Linked DNA regions of Homo sapiens: all the other regions are linked to region 3. The links are contacts of gene promoters, found by promoter capture Hi-C in human tissues and cell types (Jung and others, 2019). All regions are on one chromosome and are shown on one strand. The core of a region is centred on a gene start or on the middle of the fragment in contact, and the rest is flanking DNA. Distances in the headings are between cores, read along the strand shown. Region 1 overlaps ZFAND3 (zinc finger AN1-type containing 3). Region 2 has its middle 27 kb from the start of LINC00951. Region 3 holds the start of SAYSD1 (SAYSVFN motif domain containing 1).

What was found. The method cuts DNA at HindIII sites, captures the fragments that hold promoters and counts their contacts. A contact is called where the count stands out against the background at its distance.
Region 1: a contact is called between a fragment that was not itself captured here and the fragment with the promoter of SAYSD1 in region 3, in 1 of the 25 tissues and cell types used here (hippocampus).
Region 2: a fragment that was not itself captured here is called in contact with the fragment with the promoter of SAYSD1 in region 3 in 1 of the 25 tissues and cell types used here (pancreas).

The regions. Positions count from the first base shown.
Region 1 is chr6:38,000,224-38,003,658 of GRCh38, forward strand. The region is part of intron 2 of ZFAND3 (zinc finger AN1-type containing 3); the gene reads left to right. It also overlaps the pseudogene ITGAEP1. Among named protein-coding and RNA genes, the nearest start is that of ZFAND3, 180 kb to the left of the region's middle. The HindIII fragment of the contact is 5,667 bases long and covers 1-3,435 here.
Region 2 is chr6:40,326,933-40,330,353 of GRCh38, forward strand. No RefSeq gene overlaps it. Among named protein-coding and RNA genes, the nearest start is that of LINC00951, 27 kb to the right of the region's middle. RefSeq lists enhancers at 2,755-3,393, 3,394-3,421. The HindIII fragment of the contact is 4,594 bases long and covers 1-3,421 here.
Region 3 is chr6:39,113,638-39,116,833 of GRCh38, forward strand. It overlaps SAYSD1 (SAYSVFN motif domain containing 1), which reads right to left and starts at 1,549. Exons shown (of 2, transcript NM_018322.3): 1 at 1,246-1,549. The coding sequence starts at 1,452. RefSeq lists an enhancer at 1,143-1,432. The HindIII fragment of the contact is 12,223 bases long and covers 1-3,196 here.

The sequences.
Region 1 (3,435 bases), core at 164-2,663, 1.1 Mb before region 3:
CATTTGCGAGACCCATAGCACCTTCCATTAATTAATTATAAATTCTTCTCATCTAATTCTGAAATTGAGAAACTGTATTTCCCATGCCCTCCAAACAAATTTGTGAAAGAGCGAAAATTTCATAGATCCTGACTGTATTTATTAGTTCATTCTTATACTGCTAATAAAGACATACCCAAGACAGGGTAATTTATAAAGGAAAGAGGTTTAATGGACTCACATTTTGGCATGGCTGGGGAGGCCTCACAATCATGGCAGAAGACAAAGGAGAAGCAGAGACACATCTTACATGGTGGCAGGCAAGAGAGCTCGTGTAAGGGACCTCCCCTTTATGAAACCATCAGATCTCATGAGACTTAACTTATTTACTGTCAGGAGAACCGCCTGGGAAAGACCTGCCCCCATGATTCAGTTACCTCCCACTTGTCCCTCCCATGACACGTAGGAATTATTCTCTAGTAAAACAATAAATTAGATCAAGGATGCTAAACTCTGTATTCACCTAATATATCAATATTTAGACTAAAAGAAAAGACTAAAAGACAAAAAGAAAAGATATCAGACCAACAGCCATAACTCAGTTCTCTTGTGTGTAACTACTTTTTACTCCTAGAGACAAAGGAGTTGTCTTTACTTTTATTCCAAAATGAGATTTGGGTGGGGACACAACCAAACCATATCACTGACTGAGTCTTGCGCCTACCTTCTGCTTAATGCTTCTTTCTTTTTAGAAGTAGAAATATTCATGAATGAGAAAATTATAGGCACTGGACCTTCCTCTGATGCACTGAATAAAGCTCAGAGTTCGCTCTAATCACACTTGAAGGAGAATAGGTTGAAGAATGCAGGGTAATTTAGAAATGCAAGAATGCTTGTATATCCTTTTACTAAGGAGATTTTTAAAAAATCTTCAAAATAACTCTGACCACCCTTAGTGTAGAAAGTATTCTAACTCATTTTTATTCATTCTTTTAAATAAGTTACTTTCTCTTGACCTGGAGTAGGACAGTCCCAACTTCCAGTTGAATAATAATCCCCTAGAAACAATGCTTTGTTATTTCTGACACTGGTTCACTGCTCTCCTCTTCACAGATCCATTACTACTAGTGTTTGACCTTCTGGAAGGCACAAGGTGCTCCTGAAATCATAGTTAGGACTGGGAACTGAAGGGCTGATGCAAATGTATCTTGTAAGACAGTCTGTGTTCTGTTACAAATGATCTCCATCCTGGTGTTCTTTCCTGCCCAGTTCATTTATTTTTCCTAGGATCTTTGCACAGAGCAGAGCAACATAAACTCTATTACAGTCTTATCTTTTAGTGGGCTTTTGGCCAAAGGTTCAGAGCTCTAGAATTTAGAATTACTTTTTACTTCATAAAATCACAGGGTTGATGTTAGCACTTTTTTTTTCAGCCATTAATTCATCCCTTGGTCATATGTAAATAAACTAAATTTGTATGATGTAGTTGGTGGAGTGAGATGTCTGGTTTATTCAGCTTGGAAAACCTCTTTCAGAACATGGATAAACATGTATTTGTGCATTCCCATAGCTTCCGGCAAGCTCTGTAGAGAAGGTCAGAGGAATAAAAGTAAAGGCAACTCCTTTGTCCCTAGGAGTAAAAAGTAGTTGCACACAAGAGAATTGAGTTATGGCTGTTGGTCTGTTATCTTTTCTTTTTGTCTTTTAGTCTTTTCTTTTAGTCTAAATATTGATATATTAGGTGAATACAGAGTTTAGCATCCTTGATCAAATTTATTGTATTACTAGAGAAGTACATTTTTACCAGTGAAAATACAGTCAAGTGTGAACATTTTAAATGCAGAAAGCCTGAGATTTTGTCCTATTCAATAAAACGGCTGAATTATAGAATACTCAAGAGATGTTGTTTTCCTTAAGAAGATATACTATAAATATTCATGCGTACTAAGCCTATAGAAACATAAACTAGGCTTAGTTCAACAATAAATACTTGCAAGCTCAATGAAGACATAATGGATACAAAGATGATACCCTCAGGAAGCTTATAGTTTAGTTCTAAATTACACTACTGTATTTTCTTTTCTTTTTTTTTTTTTTTTAAAGAAAACAGTTTAACATCAAATGTTTCCCAGGTTTACTTTTTGCACAGTGCATACAGTTTTGGGAAAATATGTGGTTACAACACGATATTCTAGGCCAGTTATGTTGGCTCACACCTGTAATCACAGCGCTTTGAGAGGCTGAGGCGGGCGGATTGCTTGAACCCAGGAATCCGAGACAAGGCTAGGCAATATGGTGAAATCCCGTCTCTACAAAAAATCCAAAAATTAGCCTGGCTCGGTGTTGTGCCTGTAGTCCCAGCTACTCAAGAGGCTGAGGTGGGAGAATCACTTGAGCCCAGGAGGTGGAGGTTGCAATTGCCACTGCACTGCAGCCTGGGTGAAAGAGTGAGACCCTGTCTCAAAAAAACAACAACAATAAAAACAAAATAAAACACCCTATGATAGTCCACAATTTGTTCGATGCTACTCTAGATCATCCTAAAGGAAAAAGCAATCAGTACGACACCAAGTCTTTAGAATTTCGAGGATTGGTTGATATTATCTCCCAGTAGATGAGAGAGCAGATCTTATTTTTTTTCTGTGAGCAGATTCGCTGGCTTCATCTGGGCCTTCCCTATGCTAAGTTCAATTATTGATATTTTCTTTTTAAAAAGCCACATACCTTGCTAACACGAGAAGAGGGCTGGGGGGAAAATGCCACACTTGGACAGAATGACTATAATTATCAAAACCAGAAGGCCATCAACGTTGCCTCCAATGATGGTAGGCAAAGAATGTTACTTCTCATCTTTCAGGAAGATGACAATGATCTTAGTTCGTTGGTTCTCTATATTCAGCCCCTCATATAGAGATTTGTTGAAAGGATCCACAGTTCAGTTACATATCTTGGTAACAGTTTAGAGTGACCCAACGAAATCTCTGCAGCCATGGTTACATTTTCTTTATGTGACGTGATGGCATAGCTCACTGAATGCCATTCTTCCACATGCTGAACTAAATTGATCTCATAAGTGTGCTTCTGACTTTGGATGCACAAAGTGTAGGCCTGAAATGAAAGCTATTCCTGGGATGCACTGAGCAAATAAACTGCCATAGTCATCTGCCCCCTCTCCTCTATACCGCTGTATTTTAATTTAGTTTATAATAATTAAAACAGCTTGTACATTGTATTTTATTATAAATGCAATTAATGAAATATGAGTAAATGAACCTTTAGTATTAAAAACCATCCATAATCTTTTTTTTTTTTTGAGACGGTGCCTCACTTTTGTCGCCCAGGCTGGAGTGCATCAGTGTGATCTCAGCTCACTGCAACCCCTGCCTCTTGGGCTCTAGCAATCCTCCCACTTCAGCCTCCCAAGTAGCTGGGACTACAGTCATGCACCACCACGAC
Region 2 (3,421 bases), core at 410-2,909, 1.2 Mb after region 3:
ACATTTAAGAAGGATTTGGAAGCTCTGGAGCACAGCCAGAGCCAATAGGAGAAATGATGAAAGGTTGAAAAAAATAGAACCTGTAGGAAAAGTCCAGGAGAGGTGGGAGTTAAATGGGTCTGGGAGAGGCAGCTGTATGCAAATGAGCAGCTCTTTAGTTTGAGGAGGGTGGGGAAGCCAGAACTGGGGGACATTGATTTATACAGCAGCAAGAAAGGTTTAAGTTAGACTCCAGGAAGTGAAACTTGATGAAGGCTTCTGGTGAACTAAGTACTTCCCTTGGCTGCCCCCCTGCTCAGGAGGCCCTGGTAGACCCCTCCCTTGTCCCACAAGGGGCCAGGCATGAGGATGACTGGAAATGTGAAGTCCTAGAGGGCTGTAAAGGCAGGAACTATCTGATACTGTCCCTGGGTCATATGACAAGCAAGGAAAGAGTGTGAGCAGGGTCTGTCTGCTCTGGTTTCTGGGCCTGATGCAGGGGCTGGAGCAGATGACTTCTGTGGGTGGGGATTCCTCACATGGCATGAGGAAACAGTGATGTTTCAGGAATTGGATACTTTTCACATTTCCTCTAGGTTATCTCCCATATGGCTATATCCCTAGGAAATGTCTCACATCAGTTAAGGCAGTTGATGCATTCTAACTATGACCCTGGGATCAGCTTTAGGAAAGGGGTCGCCAAGGATTGACGGAGCCTAATGCATCCCAGGATGTCAGAACTAAAAGGATTGTGGCAGATTATCCAATCCAACCTCCCAACCCTTTGCAAGTGAAGACACTGAGCTCTGGGGAGCTTTCAGAAATTAGAACATCAGTGGTGAAATCAGCAGCATACCCAGGTCCCTGGATGTCTGACCCAGTGTTCCTCCAACCAGCTCATGTTTGACTCTCAAAGTGAGAGCCACGAGGCCAGGGAAGAGGTCAGGATGAACACAGAAGGATAGAGGCCTGGAAAGGGGTGATGGGGCCAGAAATGGGGAAGGGGCAGGAAGGAAAAGAGAAAAGAAAGCTTTCCCTCTCTTGGGCTGGGTGGTGAGAGGAGCCAGGCAAGATTTTCTGTTGTTTTAGAGAGAGCTAAGGGTAGAGGGCTGGTGTGGGAGGCAGGGCTGCTGAGGGGGGCCTCTCATGGGGGGCTCCTTTGGGGTCAGCACTTTCCTAGCTGGCTGGCTTCATCCACCCACCTTCCCTAGATTTCCCCACTTCCTACATTCTCACCTGCCCCTTCCGCCAGTTAATCTCTGAAACCACAGGAAGAGTGGGGTTCTGGGGGCAGATAGAGGAGGTACTGTGAACGGGGTGTGATGTCCTAGAGATGTCACCTGGAAACAGATGTGTATACCCCAGAGGATGCCTGAGCCCCCTCCAGGTCCCTCACCAACATCTCAAAGCACAAAATGGTATCCAGTGTGCTGAAGACCTACTCACGGTAAGGGCTGGAGCAGAGAGGAGGATCAAGAGGCTTCCAAGTATGCGTTCCCTGCCGGAGAAAGCCGGTCTGGTTTCCCTCGCTGGAGGGCCTCTCGATTCTCAGGCTTCCATCAATGTGTGAGCAGGAGCCTTGCACCAATGTCCCTCTCCCAGGTCACACACCTCTAGGACCTCTGCGTCCATCCTCCTGCCTAAGCATTTCCCTGACGCACCTCCAAGTGGCGTCCTCCTCTCCACAAGGGAGCAGTCTCTGGGCTTCCTCCAACTTTTCTCATGCTTTTAAGCTAAGCCACAGCCCCTCACTGGGATCTATGGAAGAAGGACCACTCCTAGCTGTGCTGGGGAAACTGCCAATGCAGTGATCTCCCCACTCCTCTACTTGTTCCTAGAGACCCTCCTCTATCTTATCTAGCTCACCGGCCCACCTGTCCTCTCCTCCCTTTCTTCCGTAAGGATGCTGCAGCCACCCCTGCACCTGGCCGCAAGAGGGCACCATGCCCTCACTGCCACCCCAGCTCTCCAGCCCACTCCTACCTCTGCCTTCCTTATAGTCCTGCCAGATCGCACTTGGCAGAAAGGAGCCAACTAGGAAATCCCAGGATAATCTAAGAGGTTTATGTCAAAAGGTTTACAAGGGAAAAGGTAGGTAAAAATAAGTGCCTGGCACTCTGCCAGCTGCTGGGGATTCAAAGGTGAATAAGACCCCTACCTGCCCACTTCTTAGTCTCAAAGAGGAGACAGGTAATTACTGTGCAGTAGGTGAGCCCAGGAGGGTAGAGAAATGCAGCCTGCTGATGTAACAGCCAAGAGGGGCTCCCTGCCCCCAACTTCACCAGGGGCTCAGGGAAGATTCCTAGAGGATTCCTGAAAGGTGAGTAGGAAGCAGCAGGTGAGGGAGACAAGGGCAAATCAGGAGGCAGGAACAGCAAGCCCGGGAGTGGGATCAGCATGAGCAGAGGTTGGGAGGCATGAAAGATTTAGAGTGGAACATAGGGTAAGTTGACTTTGTCATATTCCAGGCACCAGGTTCTGTTCCTCTCCTTTCCTGGTCTGAGGAATGCCCAACTGTGGGAGCTTTCAGTGCTACCCTAAGAAGCCTAGCAGAGTTCCCAGGCCCTCCTGCAGCCCTGCCCTCCTCCTTTTCTCTGGGGAGGAGCGGAGTGTCCGGGCTTGGGCGAAGGTGCTATCACTCAGTCCTCATGGTGTTCCCTGGATGGTGACCTCCTGATTCAGGTTGTTATTATTCCCATTTTGCTGATGAGAAACCAGGGGCTCAGGAAGATGGAGGAACCTGCGCAGGACTGCGTGGCAGAGCTAAGCCCCTCAGCCAGGGCTTCTGCCCCCAGCCCCTGTGGCCTGTGCTGCTTAGAAGGGACCGTATGGAAATCCCTCTCTCCCCATGTGGTCCAGAAGGCTGACACTAGCCATTTGAAGCAGATTTTTTTTTAATGGAGGCTTTCCAATTACAAAAGTAATAAATACTCATTATTTTAAAAATCAAACAATATAGAAATTCACAATATTCACAATATTGAAAGTAAAAGTATCTTATAATCCCACCTCTCTCTCCCCAAGGTAACTACTCTTAACAGTTTGATATGTATTTTTCTAGACTTTCCCATGGGTTTGCAAATATGATTGTACATTTTTAAAAAATGAAATTATGCTTTGCTGCAATTTGCTTTCTTCAACTTAACAGTCAGTCTTGAACTGTTCACATGCATGCATACTGATCTATAAAGTGGGGCTTCTTGTGATTCCCACTTATTGCTGAGGAAGCCAGGCTTCCTCAGGGAAGGTAAGCTTCCCCAACCACACAGCTCAGGAGGGACAGACTTACCAGCCCAGCCTGTCAAGATCTGGGGCAGCCAGTGGGGAGCTACACCCACCCACTCACTGCTTTTTCTCCCAGCAGCCTTCTCACTGTCCTCAGCTGCTAGGAATTTTTAGGAATGGATTTCTGTGTCATTTCTAATAGATCAGGAATATCCTA
Region 3 (3,196 bases), core at 299-2,798:
GGGTCCACCTCAATGATCTCATTCCTTTGGAAATGAGACATACAGTCAAAAGTTCATTGCATGGGTTAGACATTGTTTTTTAACTGCAGAGAGAAAAAGAATAAGGGAAATGGTTTCTAAAATCTTAAGCAAGTGTTGTACTTAGAAAGTTCTAGTCAACAATAAAATTATCCAAAGACAATTAACACAAACTGCACACAAGGAAATGGATTGTCTGAACTCTGCTGCGCTCTTTTCACCTTTCTGCAAGTCAGCTGGAATCCTGTATATCACTGAGAATATCAAATCAAAATTGAGTAATAGGTTCAGTAATTTTTAAAAATTCCCTCAAATCAAATGTTGTGCAATAATAGATGAACTTACAGGAAATAATTTTAAGGTGAGCAAGGTACACTTTTCTTCCAGTATATTTTCATTTTAAAAGGAATTTTTTAGTTCTTATTGCACTTATGAGGAACAAAGCACTGGGCACAAATTGTTACAAAGCACTCATCCCTTGATATGTTTTGTCTTGTATTTCCACATAGACATTTCAACCTCACTGCAAGCCACCTTACCATTTTACTGAGTTAAAACTAAATGAAAACACAAAAGGATGCAAATTAAATTCATCTGCAAAACAAGAGATTACCAAAACAATTAAATGTGAAAAGGTTATCATACTAAATCACTTTTTTTTGTTTGTGTCTTGAACATTCACTATGGAACTGGAATAAGCTTCTGCCACTACCGGCAGTTACAGCTACCACACTTTGGTAAATTCTGTATTCAAACGCATTTCTAAGTCACAGGCTATCTGGGCTACTAGCTGCATGTGCCCCAGGTGCGAATCAAATGAAGTTTTAATTACTGCTACTTGTGATCGGTATCCAATTAGACCTTTTACCCTCCTCCATTAGCAGAGGGCTGTGGCTCAACTTGGTTGTGGAGAGGTTTCCCAATGCCACAGGGCGTCACGATAACTCAATTCGGAGTGAATAATTTAAGAGCAGAGGTGCTTTCTCCCAGGACCCTCGACTCTCGCTGGAATCAGGACCTGCGTGGGTCGCGGGCTGGAAAGAAAATGTCAAAACTGGTAACAGTGCTGACACGTGTGGCCGGAGATGAGCGGTCCGGCCCTCGATCAGGATGGGGGGCCAGTAGCCCCGCCTCCGGCAGCTAGGGCCACACCCCCGGCAGCTAGGGCCGCGCCCTCGACTGTGGCTCCGAGGCCAGGTCCTAGGGCCGAAGTTTCCATCGTCTCACCTGAACTAGGCCGGGCTGGGCCCGGGCACTCGCGGGCCTAGGTTTCCATACCAGGAACCGCTTTAGCCAGCCTGGGGCTGCCTTTAGAGTCGCTGCTGCTTCCGCCTTCTCTCCTGGGGTTTGTGCGCCCTGACTGGCAGCAGGGGGTTGGGCCGCCAGACCCGCCCGTTTCCGCGCCGCCCGAAACTCAGCTAACCGCTGTTCCATGGCGCGCGCCTCGCGTCCGTTGGCCGATAAGGGAGCGCGCGCCCGCAGGCCGCACAGCAGTTGCCTCCGCTCGGCCCGCGCCGGCCGCCGTGCGCCTGCGTGGCAGAAGCCCCTGCTGAGCATGCGCACTGGTGTGACCCGCGTCTCCTCCGTTTGTGAAGTCTGGCGGGTCGCGTGTATACTCAGCCGTTCTCTCTTCACAGGCACGTGGACACAGTGTCACCTCCTCAAGCCAAGTCTAAAGCACAGGGCTGCCCCATTGCCCTCTCCCAAAGGCCGCTCTGCCTTGCTGCATCTCACTTAAGGGCTCGAGGCCCCACTGATCCAGCGTCCTGTATTCGGGATCTCTGTTGCTGGGCCCCAATGAACAGCGCCACAGTGAGAAGATGGTTCCAGGGGTTAGGAGAGGCCCGTGATCTCTACGACATTCCAGCGTCAGAGGAATAACAGGCTACATCTTACCCTTTTTCTCTTATCAAGGAAAGGGTATGCCAATCTTAGTACCTGGAGGGTGACTTTCTCACTGCTCACAAAGCAGGCTGTGCAGCTCCATCATTGGTCTTGCCACGTTGGGAAATTATCTCGTTTTGTGTCTAGATACGTCAGAACCTTAAAAAAACCAACAACAAAAACTTTTATTGGGGTGCAACATAAAATACACATCTTAAGAATATGACTCAGTAGATTTGCTCTTATGTATGCACCTGTGTAACTACCACCCAGATGGAGAGAAAGAACATTTCTGTACTCTGGGAGTTTCCTTGTGCCCTCTCCCAATCAGTACCCTCCCAAAAGGACACAGTTCAGGTTAGGGGCTGTTTTATACGTTCTTAAAGCTGTAAGCATCTAGCTAAGTGTCACTTACATAATTAAGACTCAAATATTTGTTGGATCTGGCTGAGGGTGACTCGAGAAATTAGACAAATTAGAACAGAGTCATCCATTCATTTAACAGACGTTTACCTAGGGCCTGCTCTGTCTAAAGTCACAGGCACTGGGGATGCTGGGATGAAAGGAAAAAACAAACAAAAACCTGTTTTCTTAGAGCTTACACTCCAAATGGAAATACAGACAATAAACAAATGTGTATCTACATATTTCATGTCATATCAGGTACTGATAAGTGCTGTGAAGAAAAGTGAAGCAAAGTAGGCAATGGTGGAGGTATTAGAGAAGACCTCCCTGAAGGTTTGTCATTTGGGCATAGACTTAAATGAGTGAGGTATGTAGATATCTGAACAGGAGTGTTTCAGTCAGAGGAACAAGTGCAAAGGTCCCGAGGCCTCAAATAGCACGCTTGACTTGTTCACAGAACATCAGGGAGGCTGTTATGACTGGATTGGAAGGAGGGAGAGGGAGGCAGGGAGGGAGGGAGGGAAGGAGGGAAGGAGGGAGAGAGGGGGAGAGAGGGAGGGAGGGAGGGAGGAAAGAGTGACAGAAAATAAAGATGCCAGGGGCAAGATCGTGCATGTAAGGCCCTGTAGGCCATGGTGAAGACTAAGTGTGGTGGGAAGCAGTTAGTGGATTTTGAGCAGGAGATGATATGATATGACATATTTTTAAAGGATTACACTGGCTGATGGAGGTGGGACCCTGGAAGATTGCAAGAATAGAAGAAGGGAAACTAGTTAGGAATAAATATGGTAGAATGAGAAACTGTAGTAGTTTGAGCTAGAGTGGTAGTGATGGAGGTCACGAGAATTGGTCAGATTCTGAATGTATTTTGAAGACCTGAGCCAACATG